Regions from separate parts of the Homo sapiens genome. Here regions 1, 2, 3 and 4 are each linked to region 5. Evidence: promoter capture Hi-C in 16 types of primary human blood cells and fetal thymus (Javierre and others, 2016). All regions are on one chromosome and are shown on one strand. The core of a region is centred on a gene start or on the middle of the fragment in contact, and the rest is flanking DNA. Distances in the headings are between cores, read along the strand shown. Region 1 overlaps LEF1 (lymphoid enhancer binding factor 1). Region 2 has its middle 19 kb from the start of LEF1. Region 3 has its middle 180 kb from the start of LEF1. Region 4 overlaps LEF1 (lymphoid enhancer binding factor 1). Region 5 holds the start of RPL34 (ribosomal protein L34).

Evidence for each region. Contacts are between HindIII fragments. The CHiCAGO score rates a contact against its expected background, and 5 or more counts as called.
Region 1: a fragment that was not itself captured here is called in contact with the fragment with the promoter of RPL34 in region 5 in 8 of 17 cell types (fetal thymus, naive CD4 T cells, megakaryocytes and 5 more); the score reaches 13.9 in fetal thymus.
Region 2: a contact is called between a fragment that was not itself captured here and the fragment with the promoter of RPL34 in region 5, in 1 of 17 cell types (non-activated CD4 T cells). The highest score is 5.3, in non-activated CD4 T cells.
Region 3: a contact is called between a fragment that was not itself captured here and the fragment with the promoter of RPL34 in region 5, in 1 of 17 cell types (fetal thymus). The highest score is 6.4, in fetal thymus.
Region 4: a contact is called between a fragment that was not itself captured here and the fragment with the promoter of RPL34 in region 5, in 5 of 17 cell types (fetal thymus, activated CD4 T cells, naive CD4 T cells and 2 more). The highest score is 9.6, in fetal thymus.

The regions. Positions count from the first base shown.
Region 1 is chr4:108,113,607-108,116,347 of GRCh38, reverse strand. The region is part of intron 3 of LEF1 (lymphoid enhancer binding factor 1); the gene reads left to right. Among named protein-coding and RNA genes, the nearest start is that of LEF1-AS1, 53 kb to the left of the region's middle. The HindIII fragment of the contact is 1,410 bases long and covers 622-2,031 here.
Region 2 is chr4:108,186,994-108,189,693 of GRCh38, reverse strand. No RefSeq gene overlaps it. Among named protein-coding and RNA genes, the nearest start is that of LEF1, 19 kb to the right of the region's middle. RefSeq lists an enhancer at 2,394-2,700. The HindIII fragment of the contact is 2,561 bases long and covers 1-2,560 here.
Region 3 is chr4:108,349,842-108,352,541 of GRCh38, reverse strand. No RefSeq gene overlaps it. Among named protein-coding and RNA genes, the nearest start is that of LEF1, 180 kb to the right of the region's middle. The HindIII fragment of the contact is 6,562 bases long and covers 1-2,700 here.
Region 4 is chr4:108,134,410-108,137,109 of GRCh38, reverse strand. The region is part of intron 3 of LEF1 (lymphoid enhancer binding factor 1); the gene reads left to right. Among named protein-coding and RNA genes, the nearest start is that of LEF1-AS1, 32 kb to the left of the region's middle. RefSeq lists an enhancer at 1,142-1,693. The HindIII fragment of the contact is 6,783 bases long and covers 1-2,700 here.
Region 5 is chr4:108,619,145-108,621,844 of GRCh38, reverse strand. RPL34 (ribosomal protein L34) reads right to left here and starts at 1,269. Exons shown (of 5, transcript NM_001319236.2): 1 at 1,245-1,269. RPL34-DT (RPL34 divergent transcript) reads left to right here and starts at 1,388. Exons shown (of 4, transcript NR_026968.1): 1 at 1,388-1,537. RefSeq lists enhancers at 1,257-1,306, 532-1,731. The HindIII fragment of the contact is 3,742 bases long and covers 1-1,739 here.

The sequences.
Region 1 (2,741 bases), core at 77-2,576, 510 kb after region 5:
AGTTTCACCGTGTTGCCCAGGCTGGTCTTGAACTCCTGGGTTCAAGCAGTCCTCTCACCTCGGCCTCCCAAAGTGCTGGGATTACAGGTGTGAGCCACTGTGCCTGGCCTGCACCCTTTTTTCTTGCTTACTGTTTCTCTTTCCTGTCAGCTGAGTCCAGCTCATGTCCCCCTGCCCTTTTCACTGTTTGAGTTCCAAGCCAACTCCCACACAGCTACCTTGATCAGATTTGACTCTCTTATTTTACCTCAGAGTCAAAATCTTGCCTGGGCGGGAGCACAGCAGTGAGCCTATAGCTTAACTTGGAATTGAAACCACCATTTATTTTCCTTCTGTCATTGTCAGGGACCTCAATTGTCTCTACAAAAATAGCTTTCCATAACTGCTCCTCAGTAGAGGGAAGAAAGCAGTAAAGAGGAAGGGGCACTGCAGCCTTCAGACCGCAGGCCTGCCTTACAGCCGTGTGTGTGTGTGTGTGTGTGTGTGTGTGTGTGTGTGTGTATGTGTTACATTATAGGCAGACCTTTTAACCTCTCTGGGCCTCAGTTTCCTTATTGGTAAAATGCAAGGATTGAAGTAAATGAATTTCAAGGTCTCACTGCTCTGATGTTTTGAAAAGCTTCAGTGTATCTTTCAACATTTTCCATTACAGATTCTTTTTTCTCATGCTGTAAATGCCAGAAGCAGAGAGAGGTTAGTCTTATCTATTTCTACAGCAGCAGCTACACAACTATCTTATTCTTTCTCTCTTTAACCTCTTCCAGTCTGATTAGGACTCAGCTTCATCCTACTGTTTTGATAGCAATTATCTATTCTGTGGCATCAGCTACTATTTATTTTTGAGATAGAGCTCAGAGTTACCAATTCTTGGGTTATTAGCACACTTGTATTTAGCAAGACCAATAATGTGAACCATCTTAAAATTAACACTTAAAAAGAAATTTTCTCAAGGTTACATAGCAGAAGAATGACATGGACTCACCATAGCCACTGAGAGAGCGGGTAGCTTCCCAGTATTAAACCGAATTATATCTGAGTAACTTCTCTTGATCAAGTCTCACCACTGTTTCTACTTACTACTACTGTTCTTGCCCTCATATTCATTCAGTTGTGTCTATTGATCTCTGATCTATTTGGATAGCTCATTTCCAATATATAAATTTGGATACTTGCATTGTCAGTAGATACTTTTTGTCCCTAACAGATAGTATAGGTGTGCGCATGGAATTATATGTGGACATAGATCTTTATTTGAAGCCTTACAACCTAAAATGGATTATAAATTGCTTCTTTAAATTTAGCCTCCTGGATTTAGGTTGTCCACAGCAGGCCAGTGGGAGCACAATTCGGATGCTCGTCTCCTCCTGTCCCATCCCATCCCATTCCGTTCCTTTTAGGCAGCAGCTCCCTGCCCTCCTCGAGCCCCATAAGTGCTGCTCGGGATAATTCCATCCTGGGCAAATGCAGGGCAGTGGTCTCTGGAGTTTCTGTTCACAGAGGAAGCCGGCTGTTCCATTTATAACAAGGAAGGGTAGTTCTCTCAGACATTGCACATACACTTCAACGTGATGTAACCTGATAGCCCCTGACGGAAGTCCTAAGGCTCTCTCTTTAAACCCTTTTCCAGAAGGCAAGGTGTTTTCCTTGCTCTTTGGCTGCTGCTCACAGTATTTTCGTGTTATCTCCTCAGACATTAAGTCCCATATCTTTAGCTCGCAGAGTTTGTCTGCTCATATGCACCACACTTAAACGTCCACATCTAGAAAACACTCTTGTTTTCACATCACTTGGGGCTGTTTCCCCAAACTGCTTACCTTTTCACCATGGCTTTGCTGTTTTCCTCATTTTGACCTTTTCTTGTTAACATAAGATGCTTGTGTGTTGTTTCTGCAATAACCACTTTCTGGAAGGGCCTAGTTGACATTTCTTATCCTGCTGTTTTGACTGTGATGATGATGATCATTATCATCATATATATGATTCTTTGCATACAAAGTGCTTTTACAAACCCTTTATCGTTTAGGCCAAGCTTGGTCCTCCTCCCTGGCTTCTTGTTACAGATTCCTTTACTTGACTCTGATAATACTTTTTAAATTAGTTTGCTTACCAAGTGGGTTAACAATAAAGAAGAGAGAAAATCTCTGAAGGACACTTTTCCTTTATGTTTGTTTGCCTAAATGCTAAATAACTGGCCTATTACAGTCACAGAGTATGACTGTAACTACTGACTTAAATATGCTGATTTTCTGCAATGAAAAGAATAGCTTTTGATAAATGTTAATAAATAGCTCAAAATTTTTGAGTAATCATAACTTCTTGAATTTTCTATAACATACTTGCCTTAAAAAAAACTCCAGATTGCTTTAAACTTATGTGTTTATTTTTTATTCTTTGTCTTCATATAGTGGTTTTTTAAATGAGTTTAGGGTCTAGAACTAAATCTTTTACAGCTGAAAGCAGAACAAAGCAACTTTCAATTGGATCCGTCTTTTCTTTTATTCAAAATGATTATTCTAAGCACTTGTGACAGTGGGTAGCTGAGTAGTAGAAATAGCCACATAGTGCTTCATCCTCCTTGCCTCTCTTACTTTTCTCTCGACATGCATACCTGCAATTTATCCATGGTCCCACCCTCCCAACACATTACTGCTGTTTTGCATTTGCCCATCCTCCCATTTGAAGGAGTGCCAGGGAGGTCCTGTTGAATTCTTCGAAGAGCAGATTTGTAGTTGTTGTATGTT
Region 2 (2,700 bases), core at 31-2,530, 430 kb after region 5:
CAGCCATGTGTGTCTATGATTTTTGCCATATCTCTTTACCACCAGTCTTATTATAAGCATTTTATTTAAACCAATTGGTTTAAATAAAGTAGTTCTTACATGAATCCAGTTATATCACAATAGTAAATGGAAAATCTAATATCACAATAAATAGTAGGCAATTAAAAAATAAATATAATGAAGGGGAAAAAAACCCTCTTAGTATAAATTCTAGCAAGATTCTCTCAACAACTCGAGGTTTCTAGCCTGAGACCTGATCTAGCTCTCTGGTAAAAAGGGAAATAAACAGGCACTAGAAATGGTTAAAGATTTGCAGGTACTGTAGTTCAAGTTTTCCCAGAAGCAAACCTGTGACTAGAATTCAGTTGCAATTAGTTTACTTGCGAGGTGAAGGAAATGTGGAAACACAATGAAGGAGGTGGGAAGTGAGGCAGAAAAGAGAAGGAAGCAATTGAATAACATATTATCAAGCCAGCTCTCACTGTGGACAACTAGAGCTTCATCCCTCTGAGGAAACTCAGGGAGCCAGTGTAAAACACACCTCAGAATTCGCCTACACAAAGAATGAGAGAGACGGGGTATTTATACACCAACTGCTATTAGTCACTTGTTGAAGGTCAATCCCTAGGACATTAATTCCCCAGCATTCCTGGGTTGCCTTGTGGGCAGCAAAGCAGGTCTCATAGTCAAGAGAAGGCCTTGGGCAAAGAATATAAGGGCTGTAGGTGTAACTCTGGCAGGCATACACCCACTTGATAAAGGTGAAAAGGTATGGGCCAGGTTCCAACAGAGGCTGCTACAGGTACTAGACTGATAGAGAATAGAAAAGGAAATAGTTTTCTCATGATTTGAGTGAAAATAATTTATTGCTAGTCCTGTAAATCACTCAAAATCATCTCCCATACCACCAAGCCAAGGCTCCCCAACCCCTGGAAACCTTCAAATACTCTTGTAAGGCCTGAAACAGCTCAGCAAGGATAAAGCCTGGCCCAACAACTGTCCTGAGGGGCCTGGTGGAATTCCATCCAGGCCACTGAAAAACAGAACTTTTCAGATATTTTGTTTACTCTTCTCCCTATCAATTAGAAATAGCTTCATAATACCTGCCTGCTCAATAGAGCATTCCAAAAGAGTTGTCTCTAGAGAAGCAGGTCACATTGACAACACAGACAAATTAGAGTATGACTGTTTACTTTTAAATGGAACTTTTACCTTTAAAAAAGGGCCATCAAATGCCTTCTAATAACAGCTTCCCTGATTTGTTTAAAATATGATTTATTGTTTATATGTATATTAAGCTATATCCATTTAGGAGATCACAACAATAACAAGAGGTAAAGTATATAGGTACTATGTGCTACGATACTTTTGTGTATGTATTTTTGTAGATATTCTTTCATTCAACAAACATTTATTGGATTCTATCTGCAAGTCAGGAACTGTTCTAGGTGCCTAGATTTATAGCAATGAAGGAAACAGACAAAAATCCCTTCCCTCCAGGGAATTACATTCTACTAGGGAAGACAGTCAAAAAATAAAAATAAATGAATAAAATACATAGGATGTCAGCTGGTAATAAGTACTACAAATATAGTGAGAGACGAGGATAAAGAGTACCAACAGCTAGGGGAGGAGTTATAATTTTAAATAGGGTGATCAGGGAAGACCTTACTGACAAGGGATATTTGGAAAGACCTGCAGGAGGTGAGGGAGTGAGCCATGTGAAGATCTGGGGAAACATTACTACGAAGAAAGGAAATAGCCTCTGCAAAGATGCTGGGGTAAGAACATGCCCAAGATTTGAGAAAGCAAATAAACTCAAGTGGCCAATGCACAGAAAGCAAGGGGAACAGTGAGAGATGAGATCAGAAAAGTAAGAGGTGGGTGTAGATCACACAGGATCCTGCAGAACATTGGGAAATGGTAAGCTGCTGGGGCATTCTGAGCAGAGGAGGGACATAAACTGACCTAAGTTTGTAAACCAAAAAAATGCCAAGCCCCCCAACTGACTGTATGGACCCCCTCTGTGCCAAGGGGATCCCAGAGAAACACGAAAAACTGAATTCCCAGCCATAAGAGGAAGGGACGTCAGGCATGCCTGGTTATACCCCTCCCTTCTAGAGTTTAGGACAACTGACCAGCATTAACACTGAAATAGAGATCATAAGACTGACAGAAACAGACTCTTTGTGGCAATAAGTTACCAAATTCCAACCTGATTCTGATATAGCATCACATGAGATAGAAGACTCTGAAGGAAATAAAGTGATTTTACCCTAAAATATATTTCTTTGACATATTTTGAAATGGCCCTAGAAAGCCCTCTCTCGGGGAAATTTGCATCTCTAGAAAATCTCCTTCCCTTTCTAGTTTTTCCTGGATCTAAAAGGGACTAAAGGAGAGTTTTGTTTCGAAAAGTTTTGAAAAGAGACATTTACCATCTATTCTAAGGCTGTTACCTGGAGGTTTAATCTAAATAACAAGAACCTTGGATTTCACAATCCTCCCCGCATCTTGACTCTAGCGTGTCTTTGTACTGACTTCAAGTCTAGACAAAGCTTAACTTTTTCAACCAATTGTCAATCCGAAAATCTTTGAATCCGCCTGTGACCTATAAGTAACCCCCTCATACTATGACGTGTCCTGCCTTTTGGGGCCAAACCAATGTATACCTTGCATGTATTGATCTATGTCTTTGTT
Region 3 (2,700 bases), core at 188-2,687, 270 kb after region 5:
CCTCTGCTTGTTATACCCTTTAACTCAACCTTCTGGAAAAATCCACTGACCAACAGCACTGCTTCTTCATTACAGCAACAGCGAAATGGAGTGAGATACTGTTAGATTCTCAGCAAGCCAAAAGGACAGTGGAAGAGCTGGTAAAGAAAACAAGGTTAAGGCCTCGTTGCCCCCATCAGAGCTAAAGCCAACCATTAAAACTCCCTTTAGCATTTCCATTTCTGTGCCTTCACTATTGAGCTCAGCCCTGTCTCATCTCATAGTACCCTCAAGCACCATCATTTGAAATAATTTTATTTCCATAAACATGTATAAAACAATGTTTCTCATAAACATCTATGCGTTATAAGGATTTAACTCTAAATTCCCTTTCAAGTCAGTTCAGGTGCCAGCAAGGATCCAAACTACTCTTTGTTTCTGGCTGAATGATGTACACAATCCCAAGAAAGACACCAAAGAAGCACTCAGCTCTGTTGCTATAAAACTAATAAATAGTGCAATCAACACAGGACACATTCCAGAGAAAGCCTGTGCTCAGTGGCTGGGTACATGACTCAAAGCAGCAGCCTCCCACTATCAAGAGTGGTCGAAAGATTGGGTTGTGAGGATAGGGGAAGGATTACATGTCATAAGAAAAAGGAAATTATGTTGATAATGATTTCTGGAGTCACTGCCAGCAACTTCAGCCAACTTGCCTGCAGGTTATCAAAATGTGCCAAATGTAGGTCCAGCCCTGTCAAGATTCAAAACATTCTTCACTCAGATCAAAGGAAGACCCTCAGAATAATTTTTTTTACTCAATACAAATATTGTCCCCAAAATCAGAGATCTCTAGACTGTCAGACTTAACGTATAGTAGAACAATTTCCCAAGTTACTGTTTTAGTACGAACGTATGGGAATAATTTGAAAAGATGCTTACAATATTGCAAAAACAGTGAGTCCTTAATATCACCATTCAATCATTGTTCAATCATTCACTTAATGCATTTCTTGGGCACTTAATGTGCAAAGTATTTTGCTATTTCTGTGCAGAATCCAAAGTTGGGAGGCAGGATAGCATCACGTTTAGAAATACACACTCTGGTGGCATTCCAAACTTTGGCGGGTCACTTACTAGAGGTGTTATTTAACATCTCTAAGTCACATCTACTTCCTATGGCCCTCATAAAGGTCAAATGAGATAATGAATGTAAAACACTTGGCAGAGCTCCGGGCACATAGAAGTGCCCAGTACATGTTAGTAGGTATTCAAAGTCATAATTTCTAGAATCAAGGCAACATTTCCGAGAATAAAAAAAATCATGGATGTTTGACAGGATATTTGTCCAGCTCCTTAACACATCACTTTCCCTCTTCACACACACATACACAATACTCATGGAGCTCTCAGATTTTCTTTCTGCAGGTAAGTATTTGCTGTTAGGTTTATTTATGCATTGTACTTAGAATTGTTTTTTCTTAAACAGTCAGGGTAGGTGGCTGTGTCAGTCCCACTCTGGACTGATATTCTGAGTCACAACAAATCCCATATTATCTGTACCAAAATGAAACTGCTCCGGCATCTCCAGGAAAGTGTTTACTGACCTGTAAATTACTCCATTGTCCATCTGAGGAGAAAGTAAATCAGCCATCAAGGGGAAAACACAGGAAAGGAAAACAGTTGTTTGTCACAGCGGAGGATTGTTTTTTGTGTTTTTTTGTTTTTTACAAGCTCCTCCGTGTCCTAAGACAAAATAAGAGCCTATGGCTCTGTCCAGTAATGACTTTCCTCAGAAAAGCTGTGTCCTCCCCAAGGTACAGTGAAACCTTTTGCTGAAGTGATGGACTCCTCTTTTGCAACCAGTTAGCACCTGCTCGCAAAACTTGATCCCTCCTTGGTTTGTTTCAAGTGGAGCCAGGGGATCAGGACTTAATTAGCGGTGATATCTCTCACACTGATCAGTTCCATCCAGCTTCCCCTGAGGCCCTAGATTTGTCTCTATCTGGAATTCCCGTGCTTGCTGGTAGGCTTGTGTTTGCAGTTAGCTGGCAGACACTTCCCACTGCAGCGCGGGGCGGCAGGAACACCCCTCGTGGCAGAGCAGGCAGCCCTTGGCGGGGCTTGGTGGGAGGCAAGTCTCAGCACCTTCGTTTAGCCTGGCGCCCACAGCCCAGAGGCGGCCCCACCGTGGAGCTTCCCCCGTGCAAGGACGAGGTCCACTGAGGCTGCCTCAAGTGACAAGGAGTCACCCTCACCAGCTGAAGGAAGAGCCATGGAGGGCTCAGTCCTGTGTGTTTGCAAATGGCCCTTGGGCTGCTGAGGATGGATTTTTTTTTTTTTTTTTAAGAGGGGAAAATGCCTCAGCTCTGTACCAGCTTGAAGCCAAAATAACATGTTTTGGCAACCATTATTTGGCAATTAGGGCCTCAGCTCACTGGAAGCATTCTTCCATGCAAAATATGCCTTAGAAAGAAAACACTAAGCCACATCTGTGTGAAAATATAGGAAGTGAACACAGGAGTGACAGAGCAGTGAGAGTCCAAAAGGGGCTTACTAGACTGGGTTGGAGTCAGGACACATTGGCGGAGGCCAGGCAGTGACTGGGTGACTGGATGTTTTCACAGCCTTACCTCCAAATCTGACCCAGTCCAGCGAGGGACTAAGGATATGGCATGGTGACATCCTATGTGTGTGTCTCCTCCTCCCAGATGATGGACT
Region 4 (2,700 bases), core at 119-2,618, 480 kb after region 5:
TGTACTGTTTGAAGAATAATTACAATACTTATTTAGGGAGAGGCACCAAATACATATTTTAACTAACATTAAAGTCAATTTTAAAGTACTTACAATAAAGAAAAAGTTGACTTTTTAATAAGCCAGAAGAAACTTAGTCTGGGTTAAATAGCTTTATCCTTAGCAAAAATGACCAGACAACCTCTCAGAATTTTAAAGGAAGACTTAGAGCCCTTATTGGTAGCTATTTAGTTTTCAATGACTACATACTTATATAATTTCATAAAAATTATTGGAAGTTATTTCCCTTTTTACCCTTGGATATTTTGAGTTAGAACATTATTTTTAAAATCTTATAAGCACAGTAGGGTAAATAATCACAAACATTTATGTTTTTTAAAGAAAAAGACACCTTACTGAAGGGCAAATGACCCTATATTATTAGATTTAACTATTCAGTCACCGTAAGAATTACAATAGCATGTTTTATACAATGTGTGAATCGTAACTCTAGGTCTGCAGTTATAAGACCCCTGAAAGGCAAACTTCTGGCATTTGATCATATGTATTGCTGAACTTTCCAGATCTGGGTGGGGTATCCAAACCTGGAATTGTTATAATACTATGCAGCATAAGCATCTAAAGTTTAAAAAAAAAAAAAAAAAGGAAATTTAAGGAGATGAGAAGTATTTGAACTGGCAATATGCTATATAACTGTACATGTTTTTATAAAGATTAATCCTTTGATTTTAGAATACTTGGTCAAATAGCCAGTAGAATTTAAGTTTTGAAGGTTTTGGGGGGAATACGCATATAGTAGAAGGACAAAGCAGAAATGGTTAAGAAAGATACGAATTTTATAGCATGCTAAACCAACACCACGTGAAATTTTATAGGTGCAGGTTCTTTATGGAACTTCTAATGTTTGCACATTTATTTTAGAAAAAATGAACTATGCTTCTGAAAGTTATTTTACATTTAAGTTCAGAGTTATTTCCTGTTTTCTTCTCTTGTCTACCATAACTTGTTTTGTTTTTTTCTACCTGAATTTTAACCCTTGAAAGATTTCATTATTTTCACATCACATCATCACCTTCCCCTGAGCAGCTGAGACCAGTTTTTGCTCATTCAACCTGTTTGTGTAGTAATTTTGTGACTGATTTTCTTCATGTATGGGCAAGGAAGAAGTCATACTGTTTGTACAGTTCACATTTGGGCAGGATTGGGGGAAAGGGGGATGAAGCCAAAAAGAAAAAGTTCTTGGAGCCAGCCCATGGGGTGCGTGGGAGGAGAGCAGAAGGAATTGCAGGCTCCAAGCAGGTTAGCTTGAAGGACTCACAGTGGATAATTACCTACACTATATGGCTGGAGGAGGGCTACAAGTCTCCACTTGCCTAAAAACAACTCCCCCGCTGGCAGGCCATTGAAGTGTCACTCAGCCAGCTTCCTTACCCCCAGTTCCCACTGCTAGAGGCTCTCCATAGACAAAGCAGGGCGTTGTTGCCTAGAGGCCCCTGTTCTTGCCGGCTAGCAGACACAGCACTGTACCTCTCCTGGGGCATGCCAGTCCCCCAGTGGGAATAACTCCCTCCACCTTCACTCTCGCCATCCTGAGCCTCCACTGGAAGGGATGCTTGCATTTCAGGGCCATCACCAGAAATAGATGGAAGCACATCTCCATCTGTATTTGAGCCTGCTGTCATTTGCCTCCTCCTACCCTTTATCACTCTTCCAGGCTAAACAGTCTTAATTCTCCGTGCCTGCTGGTTTCAGAACGTTTGCTGTTGTGGCCCCACTCCTAGTTACATTCTTTGTTTTGGCCCAATAAAAGTTTGGGTTTTGAAGTACACTCAGTGCTTCAGATTGAGCTGGCCCCCCACAGGATAGGAGTGGTCTGTAGCTTCCCTCATTCTGGATGTTTGAGTTCCATTAATGCGCTGCAGGTTTTAGAGTCTTAATAGCGTCTTGACACCTGGGCTCAAAGTAGATTTTAGGCAGCTAAAACTCCTGTCTTCCTCTAACAAGTTTGGTTTATGGACCCATCAACTTGCAATGTTTTATTGTAATCTATATTAGCACCCCCCTTCTCAATTCACTTGGTCACTTTAGTCATTTGGGGTCTTTTTGGACCTAGTGATGTAGTGTTTTTTATTCCTTCCATTTTCTTGTCATATGGGAATTTGAAAGGCAGGCATCTGTATCCCTTTTAAAGTCATTGATTAAAATGTATGAAGAAGCAGGGATGCTGGGTGGGTTATCATTACCCTTTGAGTATATGAAAGGGTTCTGCTTCAACTTGGGAATCAGATAAGAATCCTGGATCTCCCTTTGGCTTGCTATGTGACCTTGAGCCATTTACTTTAACTTCTCAGGGTTTTAATTTCCTCATGTATAAAACGATGTTACCTCCTACTTCATAGAGCAGAGTGAGGAATGGAGAGTATGCATGCAAACCATCAGATGTGCCTAGCACATTGTAATGGGCAATACGTGCTCTTTTTTATCCTGTTTTGGAATCACATTGATAAGAGTTTAATCCTTCATCTGTATGTCTTGATGTATTTGGAATAACTCTGTGTGGCCCATCAGCTTCTCCAGTCTCCTCTTTTCTAGGATGGAGTGCCAGTGCTGTAGCCTGCTCCTCCAGTGCCCTGTATTATTCTACATTTGAACTTTAAATAAAGAAAGAAAGCTGCTCTGGATGAGCAGTAGAGCCCTATT
Region 5 (2,700 bases), core at 20-2,519:
AACACCCTTAAATTAAGATGTATTATTCCACATTTTAAAACTACTTGTATTTAAAGGTGACTGATAAACAAGAGGCCAAGAATGTTAGCTTTCCTGATGGTAATCAAACGTGGCACTTCCTTAACGTTCTGATGACCAGGCTCCTTACTCAGAGTCTAATTTTGTTTGGAGTGGTGTCCAGAAAAGTGCCACGAGCCCAGTTGGAGAAACACCGCTTTAAACAAAGAGCACAAAAAGTGAGCTCTGAAGTCGAATCCTTAGCTATGCCATTTACTGGGAATATAAAGGGCAAGGAGCTAGCCTCCTTATCTCTAACATGGGAATTCTGTCTACTTTATACAGCTGTCATTAGGATTAAACGACGTGGGCTATCCGTCCCAACACAATGCCTGGCACATATCAGGGTTCAATGTCTTGCCCTAAAGCACCACCTGCGTAAAGGCATACCCTTTAATACTAATTTTGATATTACACAAGTTTCTTTGGGTTATGGCACCTGCTTTCTTCCCACTTCTGGAAACATCGTGATGTTATTTAGCAAATCGGTTATACAGATATGCATACGAGCAACTTCGTTAAGGGAACTACCCAACGTAAAACATAATCAATACTTGAACTAATTTAATCTTCCCATTCCACCCCTTGTAACCACCTCATTTGTTGTCACAAGCCTCTCACTAAAATTAAACTAAAACAGAATTACCAGACACCAAAACTTGACACGTAAAACCAGTGCGAGTGATTTATGAAGCCATTATTCTGTTTGCATCTCCAAAAGCAAGACAGAAACTTCTAACACATTTTTCTCTTCCTTGACATGGGCCTTGGACGCAGAAGCCAAATAGCGAAACCACCCGAACTCGCCGGACCCTGCCCTCCCAAAGACTAAGGACACGTACAGGCGTGCTGTGAAAACGTGGGTGTAAAATATGAAAACGTTTGGCGATTTTCCAGACTCAAACCGCCAAACCACAACTCGTTAGTCTCCAAACGCTACACTTGGAATGCAGCAAAGTCCCGGGTGGTGAGCTGTGGCTACTCACGGCTTTGGAGGTGCCACCAGGAACAAGGGATTTCCAAAGATCAAAGTAAGGAACTTCCTCACCACCAACCTCCCTGTTGTGCCCCTTACCCCTACACCAGCTCAAAGGACTGCTTCTGAGAGCTCTAGGCTTCCTCAGCTCCTCGGATGGCAGCCGATTGGTAAGGAAATAAAGACAGGGAAAAGAGAACAACATCCATACCTGCAGACAACGTCCCCGGAAGAGGAAGAAAAAAGCCTTTGCCAGTTCAAAGGTCAAATAGAATTGCGCAGGACAGGAAGTTGCGTCAGAGAGAGAGTATCCGTGTTGTACGGAAGCCGACGCACCTCTCCGACGTGGGCAGAGATGCAGGGAACCACCACGTTGTACGGCAACCAACGTGCCGCCCCTCTGTGGGCGGGGATTCACACTAGCTGTCTGTGTCAAGGCCACGCAGAAATCTATTGGAAATCGCTGTGGAAACAAACGCAAATGAAAAGCCGCAAAGAGCAAAGGTGGGACAAAATCAACTTCTTTCGTTGTCATGGACACTGCACTTTTAATCTAAAGGGCGCCAGCTCTGGCGTTAGACCTGGGTTTAAATCCCAACTCTTGACATTTATGGTTAAGGGACCTTCAAGGACCAGGGACCTTCAAGAACCTTCCCTTCTTCAACCTTCCCTTCTCTTTCCTTGTCATTTATTCAGAGCACAAGCTTTACAAACAAATTGGGATTTTAATCCAGTGTCTGCTAATTATTAGCTATGTTACTTTGAGCAAGCCCTTAAATCTCTAAAAGGAAGATATTAGGAACTACCGTGCCATGTTATGTCATGATCAAAGGCATTATGAAGTTAAAGCACTTAGCACAGGGTCTTATAGAGAGGAAGTGCTCAGTAAATGGTTGCTAATCTTATGATTATGTACAAAGAACTACTTGAGGCTTTTCATGGGTGGTAAAGTTTAACCTTTAAAACAGTATGTAAAATTTTACATTAAGCGCACGTGTGTATTTTTCTGAGAAGAGGGTCCCTGGCTTTCATCACCTTGTCAAAGGGATTCATGACCTCTAAAAAAGTAAAGAACTCTTTGCCTGGGCTGTAAAAGACAATTCTAAAAGGGGCCTTTAAGTTTTTAATCTTAGATCAGGCTCCCTGGAAACACACCTCGAAGAGACTTGAGTGTTGGCTTATGGGGAGCGCTCTTAGAATGCACCTCCAGGAAGCTGAGAAAGGCGGGGTCAGGTGATCCACAACGTGGTTGCTGTGAGGCAGCTGCATTGCCCCAGAAGAGAGGATTTGGATAGGATATCCCAGTACCCACTCAACTTTCCTTCTAGTATTTCTAATCCATCTAGCAAACCAAGAAAGCAGGCAAGTGACTGAGGGCATGTAGTCTGTCTTGAACTGTGAGGCCTATTGATTCTATCAAGCCTCACATCACTGCCATCTTTGTCACAACACCAGATGGAAGGCTCTGGTTATATCCTTCCCTCTGCTCACTCTCAAATAGCTGCTTCTCCCCCGACCTTGTCATCAGCTACTTCCCTCCTTTCCAGTCCTTTGATTTTTGTCCTCTGAAATCCTTTTCGTCTCTGTGCCAGGCATTGAGATGGAAGCTTGCATAGAGAGACAAATGTGGTTTTTGAATAAATGCACTAATGAATGTATTTACTTGC